Linked DNA regions of Homo sapiens: all the other regions are linked to region 2. Evidence: promoter capture Hi-C in human tissues and cell types (Jung and others, 2019). All regions are on one chromosome and are shown on one strand. The core of a region is centred on a gene start or on the middle of the fragment in contact, and the rest is flanking DNA. Distances in the headings are between cores, read along the strand shown. Region 1 overlaps COQ2 (coenzyme Q2, polyprenyltransferase). Region 2 holds the start of SCD5 (stearoyl-CoA desaturase 5). Region 3 overlaps TMEM150C (transmembrane protein 150C).

Region 1 (2,700 bases), core at 201-2,700, 480 kb before region 2:
GGGTTGGAATACCACCTTAGCCTTTTTTTACCTGTGTGGTCTTGGGCACAATTACTCCCTCTCTGCGTCAGTTTCTGTATTTGTAAAATGGTTGTAATAAAAATAGTGCCTATCGAATAGGCTTGTTGTGAGAGTCAAAAGTGTTCTGTGAAACCACCTGGTACAGTAAGTGCCATGTATCTGTTATTACGGTTGTCATAACATCATTAATATTGTCATCTCTTAACGACTCTGTGAGGTAGCTGTTCTCTTCCCTCATTTACAGATGAAACAAAGACTTAAGCCTTAAGATACTTTACTGTCTAGTGTCACTCAACTTACAAGTGGCAGACATAGAACTGAGAAGTCTTCTTACTTTCCCCTTCACTGTAGGAACCCTTGTCATCTGTAGGGGAGCTCTACAGATTCCTATCAGTAAGTGAATACGGTACTTTTAATACAGATTTTTGGCCAAGGAAGTTTTGTTCCTGACAGAAAACACTATAAGTGGTTACACGTCTTTCTGTCTAGAATTTTTTTCTTTTTAGTGGAACCTTCTGTTCTAATTGTACCAGGAAATAATAGCTGTGAAGTGGTATTCTCTCTTCTCTAGCCTAGGAGGATAGGATCAGCTACTCCTCTGTCCCTTGTGAACTATACTCATAGCTCCAGGGTAAAGAAAGTAGTTAAACCTACTGTGTTTTACTTAAACCACTCTGTTTATCTGTTTCCTCATCTGTAAGATAGGGTTATTAACAGTACCTACTATGTAAAGATGTTACTTGGGAGGCTGAGGTGGAAGTATTGCTTGAGCCTGGAAGTCAGAAGCTGTAGTGAACTATGACCTTGTTACTGCACTCCAGCCTCGGCAAGAGAGCGAGACCCTGTCTCTAATGTAAATATATAAATAAATAAGTTTAATATAAAGATGTCATTGAAGATTAAATAAGTTTAGACATATAAAGCATTTAGAACACTGCCTGATGCTTTGTGAGCACTCCGTAAATATTAGCCATTGTTACTGTGGAGTGCACCAAGTATGAGTCTGTCCAGGACAACCTGAATTCAGGTCTGGACTGACCATTTCTCAAGGTTTTAGCTTGAGGCTTCTCCTTGACTTCTCTGTTGTGTAAATTTAGATCCCCTTTGGAAAAGACCCTCTGATTCCTCTCTCCCTCCTCCTAAAACTAGCTAACTAACTTAGATAGTTTTGTTTTATGCCTTTGCAGGACCCTGTGCTTGTCCTGTTGTTGGATTGATCTTTTATTGTTATTGCTTATTTAACTGTATTTCTTTCTTTTGATTTATGAGCTGCATGAAGGCAGAAGCCCCCTTTCTCTTAGCCACCATTGTATTCCCAGTTCTTAGCATAGTTCTGGCACAGAGTATATGCTTCATAAATATGTCTAAATGAATAAAGCTTAAACTTAGTGAAGCTTAAACATGATTACAGGGACTTTAGTCATTTGACCATTTTTCTTCAGGATCTGAACTTTCTTTAGCCCCAAATCCCTTTTCTCTTGTATCCCTCTATAGGGAAAGAAAGCTCAGAATTTATCTAATAGGCAGCATATCCAAACATCAGTTGAAAGACTTTCTTTTAGAAGTAGAATATTAAAGTTCATATTTGAAGTCTTTTATATAATCTATTTGCTTTTATCTTAATTTCCTCTAGTTTATTGGTTAAGTACTAAGAACTAACCCCATTTGTACATGTAGCTGCAAAGTACTCAGTTCAAAATAACAAAAAAACTAACACTTAAAATCCCAGCACTTTGGGAGGCCAAGGTGGGACGATTACTTGAGGCCAAGAGTTTGCAACTAGCCTGGGCAACATAATTCCCTGGGCATGGTGGCTTGCACCTGTAGTTCCAGCTACTGGGGAGGCGGAGGCAGGAGGATCACTTGAGCTCAGGAGTTTGAAGCCACAGTGAGCTACGATTATGCCATTGTACGCCAGCTTGGGTGACAGAGTGAGATGCTGTCTCAAAAAAAAAAAAAAAAAAGACTAGACCGTCTAAGTGTATTGTACTAACAATGGTAAAGGAAATTTTGCTAACTTTTTTGAGTAGGTAATGTGTGTATATGATACAATATTCAGAAGGTGCCAGGGTATAGAGTGAAAGGCAAGTCTCTTACTCCTGTCTCCTGTCCATGCAGTTCCCCTACTCAGAAGCAACCATTATTATATGTTTCTAGTGTGTTCTTCCTGACAGTCTTTGAGCATATTAACATTGACGCATGAATGTTTTATATGTAGGTACGTATATATATATATATTTATATACACATATAAACACACAATAAACAATTTTTAAGTTGTCCTTCACAAAGGTAGGGCCATTTTGTAACCTCATTAGAAATACATAAGAGTATTCAACTCCCTAGAGTGTGTTGTCAGATGTAGGGTTTTGCCAGTGATAGGTGAAAATTTTTATCTCAATTTAGTTTTCATATGTGTTTCTCAAAGTTGAGTATCTTTTCATATGTATAAGAGCCATTTGTATTTCTTTTTATGTGAATTTTTATTATGTTTTGTCTTTTTTAATTGGACTGTTGATCTCTTTCTTCTAGGCACTCTGCGTAGTAAGGGGTCCTTTGTGATTTGAGTTGCAAATTTATTTTCTCAGTTTTGTCATTTGTTTTTTTGACTTATAGTGTTCTTTATTTCTTTGGTATGTGATGTTTAAACAAATGAAAACAGTTAACTGACTTAAATTT
Region 2 (2,700 bases), core at 162-2,661:
CAAATTCTATAATTTCAGCTCCGTCTGAAGCAACACAGTAACACTGACTCAGTGGCCTAGATTCCACAAGTGCCACATACCTTGCTTTAGCTTAAATCAGGCATTGTTTTGTCTGGCTGCTAGGACTGGCTCAGGTCTGCTAACAATAAGATGCTTATGCATGGCCCTTTCATGCAGTCAGTCTTTTAAATTTTTTTGCCTCTCTTGAAATCCTGGAAATGATTCCTAACAACGGTTAATCTAAAAATCAGCTGGTTTTGGTCAATATAATGGCGCCCCTTCGAACTCACATTCATGGAATATGGAAGCTGGAAGGAAGAGTAGAAACTAGTTCTGCTTCTCAGGTAAGGAAATCCGTGCCCAGAGAGTTGGGCTGGGTTCCAGCCAGTTAAAACTAGAACTCAGAGATGCTGTCCCGAGCCCTTTTACTTCTGCTGCCTGCCCGCAATTGCGGTCACACCTGCTTCAGACACTTCCAGCTCAATCCTCCCTCCATTTTCTGTGCAACTAGGGTCCTCTCTGGAGAGCTCTTAAGCCATCAGCTCTAGGAGAGAAGTGGGCAGACACAAATCTTTCACAGGTTAATTTTCCTTGGAACATTCTGGGTGATTTTTTTGTAAAGCCCGATTCTCAATGGTGTTGATTTCAGGGTAGTGTTCCTCACTGAGAGCTAAGGAGGCGTTGCAGAAGTGCGCTGATTAGCTAGAATTGACCATAAACAGAGTGGCGCGGCGGATGGGCAAAGGGTGGGCAGCGAACTGGCCCAAATCATCTGTGCATCACCTCACAAGCACCAACTGAGCACTTACTGTGTGCCTGGGTAATCCACAGCTGCCTAATTAAGAACGAGCAGCTGCCTTCCAACCCTCCCCTGGCCCGAGGAGCCCTACTAACTGGCAGATTGAGGGACTTCTGATTCTCATCGTGGGTCTGGCCTTAACTAGGGTCGCGACTCCAAGCAAGTATTTAAAATTCTCCAACCCAGGTGGCCTGAGGCTTGAGAAGAAATAAAAGGCTTCTCAAAGGGATGACAGTTTCGGGAAGTTTTTTTTTGGGGGGGGGACTGGAAAAATACCATAAAAGGCATTTTGGGGGTCACACACACACAAGAGCAGAAGCGCTGTGAGCCGCCCTGCAGGCTCCCTGCCCCGGGAGCCACCTTCCACCCGCCCCCGGGCGGAGGCGGCCAACTCCCGCCCAGCGGGCTCCCCAGTTCGGCCCCGAAAAGCCGAAAGGGGGGCGCCTTTGTCTATAAGCGCCGCACGGGCGCTCCTGATTGGCTGTAGCTAAGCAGGGCTTTCTTCCGCGCTCCTTCGGAGCGCTCCCTCCAGCGTCGCCGGCCCCGTTCCATTTTCACAGCTCCTCCTCCCCGGCCGCGCGCCCCTCCCGCCCCGCGCGCGCCTCCTCTTTCTCGCGGCCGAGTTCAGCCCGGGCAGCCATATGGGGGATACGCCAGCAACAGACGCCGGCCGCCAAGATCTGCATCCCTAGGCCACGCTAAGACCCTGGGGAAGAGCGCAGGAGCCCGGGAGAAGGGCTGGAAGGAGGGGACTGGACGTGCGGAGAATTCCCCCCTAAAAGGCAGAAGCCCCCGCCCCCACCCTCGAGCTCCGCTCGGGCAGAGCGCCTGCCTGCCTGCCGCTGCTGCGGGCGCCCACCTCGCCCAGCCATGCCAGGCCCGGCCACCGACGCGGGGAAGATCCCTTTCTGCGACGCCAAGGAAGAAATCCGTGCCGGGCTCGAAAGCTCTGAGGGCGGCGGCGGCCCGGAGAGGCCAGGCGCGCGCGGGCAGCGGCAGAACATCGTCTGGAGGAATGTCGTCCTGATGAGCTTGCTCCACTTGGGGGCCGTGTACTCCCTGGTGCTCATCCCCAAAGCCAAGCCACTCACTCTGCTCTGGGGTAAGTCCCGCCGGCGCCCCCTGCGCCCCGGCCTCCGTGGCCAGGCCGCGCTGGGGCGCGCGAGGTCGCCGCTCGCCCCTCGGCTGCGGGCGGTGCGCAGCGACCCCCGGTCTCCCCTCGCCTCCCGCTGCGCGCCGCGGCCCCCTTGGCATCCAGTTTTCCGTCCCTTGGGACGGGCAGGTGTTTCTGTCCCAGTATTTCAACTTCCGCCCCCCCCCCGCCCCCACCCCGCCGCGGTCTGCCTGAGGAAGCGCATTTGCCGGCTTCCCGATGGAGAGCCGGGGGGGACCCGGAGTCCTGCGGTGCCACCGCTGTGCGCAGAGGCGCGCGAAGGGAGAGGCTCGGCACAGGCTGAATCGGCTCCCAGCGAGGGAGGACGGGCGGGCGATTGTGTCACCTCTGCGGTCCCTGGGGCTCTCCTATCCCCCCCATCACCTCCGCGGGTCACGGACCTTGGGGACAGAGATGAGGACAAGTAAGGGAGTTGGACCGGGGAGGAGAGACCCGGCACAGGATAGAGTCTTGGTTTACGCGCACCAGATGGAAGATACCGGTTCCCCTCTTGCCTCTCCAAGGCCCCTGTCCCTGCCCCCTCCGCAATCTTCTATGCCCATTTGCAGTTCTCGGTGAAGTTTCTCGGTGAGCAAACCGATCCCATGGCGAGAGCGGTCTGACCCTAGCACGAAGCTCCGACTGTGGCTGTGCAGAGCCTTCTCCAAACCCTGTTCCCATGTGGCCAGTGGGAACCTGTGGCTCTCCTGGTACCCTCCTTCCGTGCACCCCCACTCCTGCCAGTAGG
Region 3 (2,700 bases), core at 87-2,586, 300 kb after region 2:
AGTAAATGTTTTGCCTTAATTATTAATACGTGTTTATTTTATTTCAGTGGTACAGGCATGGATGGGAAGAAATGCAGCGTATGGATGTTCCTACCTCTTGTATTTACTTTGTTTACTTCAGCTGGATTGTGGATAGTGTGAGTATTTGCTCATTTAATTATTTAAGGATTCAGGTGCAATGTAGATACAAATGTAAACCTTAATAGTATATGGCAGCCGGGCACGGTGGCTCATGCCTGTAATCTCAGCACTTTGGGAGGCCGAGTCAGGCAGATCACTTGAGGTCAGGAGTTTGAGACCCTTGCCAACATGGGGAAACCCTGTCTCTACTAAAAATACAGAAGTTAGCCGGGTGTGATGGCACACGCCTGTAATCCCAGCTACTCGGGGGGCTGAGGCACAAGAATCGCTTGAACCCTGGAGGCAGAGGTTGCATTGAGCTGAGATTGCGCCACTGCACTCCAGACTGGGCAAGAGAGCAAGACTGTCCCCACCCCCCCAAAAAATAGTAGATGGCATATCTTTATGACTGTATTTATAAATACTTGAAAATAATATATTTTACTAATTCAACCTTGCTAAAGTCCTCATTTCTTTTCCCATTTTCTATTAACCAAAGTAAGTAACAAGAGTGAGTAATAATTATGCAAAGCCGGTGGTGAAGAATACTAGTTTATTTTGTGTTCATGTGTTCTTGTTGTAATGAACATTTTGTAAACAGGTTATATGAATTAATTATTTGCAAGATTTTCGAATTTGACACTAACATGCCATGGGTTCCGTCTGCAGTCCAGTTCATAGTCCAGTTATTCATGATTGGGTCTGATATGTTTTTGTTTTTTGTTTTTTGTTTTTGTTTTTTTTTTGAGACGGAGTCTTGCTCTGTTGCCAGGCTGAAGTGCAGTGGCATGATCTTGGCTCACTGCAAGCTCTGCCTCCTGGGTTCACGCCATTCTCCCGCCTCAGCCTCCCAAGTAGATGGGACTACAGGCGCCCACCACCACACCCAGTTAATTTTTTGTATTTTTAGTAGAGTCGGGGTTTCACCATGTTAGCCAGGATGGTCTCGATCTCCTGACCTCGTGATCTGCCCGCCTCGGCCTCCCAAAGTGCTGGGATTACAGGCGTGAGCCACTGCGCCCGGCCTGATATGTTTATAAAATGAATATCATTACATTGGAAGTCCTGGCTTACCACAGAACGTTCCCACACTTGCTTATTTTAGGTAATATTCACTTTAAGAAAATTATTTTAGTTTCTCAAAGTTTGTTAGGAAAGGTAGGACACATATTCCCGAGAAGTTAGAAACTGAACCCTAATTTTAGTTTGCTCAAAGTTGTAAGTTCTATTTCCTTGTTTTCTAGTTTCCAGTTTATAAGCATGGCCATTACTTTGGGGATGTTTTGAAAATTAAGGAAATATTACTAATAATGACATTTGAGCTTCAAAGAACTAGATGATCTATGGGTAAAGAATTGTAAAAGAGCATTTCTCAGTTAGAAAAAATGAATATGAATTAGTGCAGTTAGTTTAATAAAACTGGGAAACAAATGATTCTTTTTTCCAATTTCTTTGTTCTATAAACTTATTCTTTTTTGATAGATACTTCATAGCTGTGGAAGATGACAAAATTTTACCATTAAATTCAGCTGAAAGGTAAAGTTTATCTGTGGGTAATTCGTTGTTCATCAAGAGATTTAGCAAAAACTTTCCCACTGGGAAGGTTAAACTGCACAAATGACAGTGCTTTAACCTGAGCTTCTGTGTTTTTTTTTTTTATTATCCAGGAAACCTGGTGTGAAGCATGCACCATATATAAGGTAACCCAGCAATTCTCTTCTGTCCTGTGGGACCGTAGGAAAAGTTAGGAGGATTATAGATTTTGATATAGTAACTATAAAACATTTCATCTTTTTCAAGCATTGCAGGTGATGATCCTCCTGCAAGCTGTGTGTTTAGTCAAGTTATGAACATGGCAGCCTTCCTAGGTAAGAAGAGGGTAAAGAACGCTTTATGTGCTTTGGTACATTTCTTTTGTATTTTAAATTCTCCCAAACCCTTGTCAAAACAATGGGGGGCTTATTTGATCATTTAGTATCATACGATGTCAATATGCTGAAGCCAGCTCTTTGTCTTAAAGGTCTTTTTCTCTCGTACATCCATTTACGTTCACCCTGCTGTCCTTACATTTTCTCTTCCCTTTACCATCTTTATCATTTCAGATACTCTTGACTTGATCTATTTTGCTGCATAAAATAATATATTTCATGATATAAAATCCTGTATGAGAATGTAATATTGTATAATACATTTGCTTTGAAAAGAATGCTTTATTTATTCCTTCACTAGCAAAGATGAAAAAAATGCATGGGCTTTGTGATATTTGTTGATGTGTGTAGATACTGTCTTTAAACCTAAAGGTCAACATCAGCATTAGGATTACACTCTCTCCTGTGCCTATAGACATAGTAAGCTGGCAAATGGAGAAGTAAGCTTAAAAAGAAGAAACCTTTAGTACTCATATCTAGCCCCAGTTCCTTTTTCTTTGGGGCCCAAGACCCTCCTGTAATATTCTGTCCCTCTGTGAGTGCGTCCATGACCCTGCATAGTCCTCCAGAGATGGTGGGAACCAGCCATGCACTCTATCCTTTTTCTAATCTACCTTGTATACCATCTCCTCAGTGCCAGGCTTTCCCAGTG

Evidence for each region. Contacts are between HindIII fragments. The study calls those that stand out against the background at their distance.
Region 1: a fragment that was not itself captured here is called in contact with the fragment with the promoter of SCD5 in region 2 in 1 of the 25 tissues and cell types used here (lymphoblastoid cells).
Region 3: a contact is called between a fragment that was not itself captured here and the fragment with the promoter of SCD5 in region 2, in 1 of the 25 tissues and cell types used here (dorsolateral prefrontal cortex).

The regions. Positions count from the first base shown.
Region 1 is chr4:83,279,146-83,281,845 of GRCh38, reverse strand. The region is part of intron 1 of COQ2 (coenzyme Q2, polyprenyltransferase); the gene reads left to right. Among named protein-coding and RNA genes, the nearest start is that of COQ2, 4.3 kb to the left of the region's middle. The HindIII fragment of the contact is 3,977 bases long and covers 1-2,700 here.
Region 2 is chr4:82,797,507-82,800,206 of GRCh38, reverse strand. It overlaps SCD5 (stearoyl-CoA desaturase 5), which reads left to right and starts at 1,411. Exons shown (of 5, transcript NM_001037582.3): 1 at 1,411-1,901. The coding sequence starts at 1,670. RefSeq lists enhancers at 253-969, 970-1,687, 2,664-2,700 and silencers at 1,056-1,475, 1,806-1,855. The HindIII fragment of the contact is 23,697 bases long and covers 1-2,700 here.
Region 3 is chr4:82,502,015-82,504,714 of GRCh38, reverse strand. It overlaps TMEM150C (transmembrane protein 150C), which reads left to right. Exons shown (of 8, transcript NM_001080506.3): 2 at 48-137; 3 at 1,603-1,656; 4 at 1,788-1,820; 5 at 1,921-1,988. The coding sequence starts at 58. Among named protein-coding and RNA genes, the nearest start is that of TMEM150C, 59 kb to the left of the region's middle. The HindIII fragment of the contact is 8,691 bases long and covers 1-2,700 here.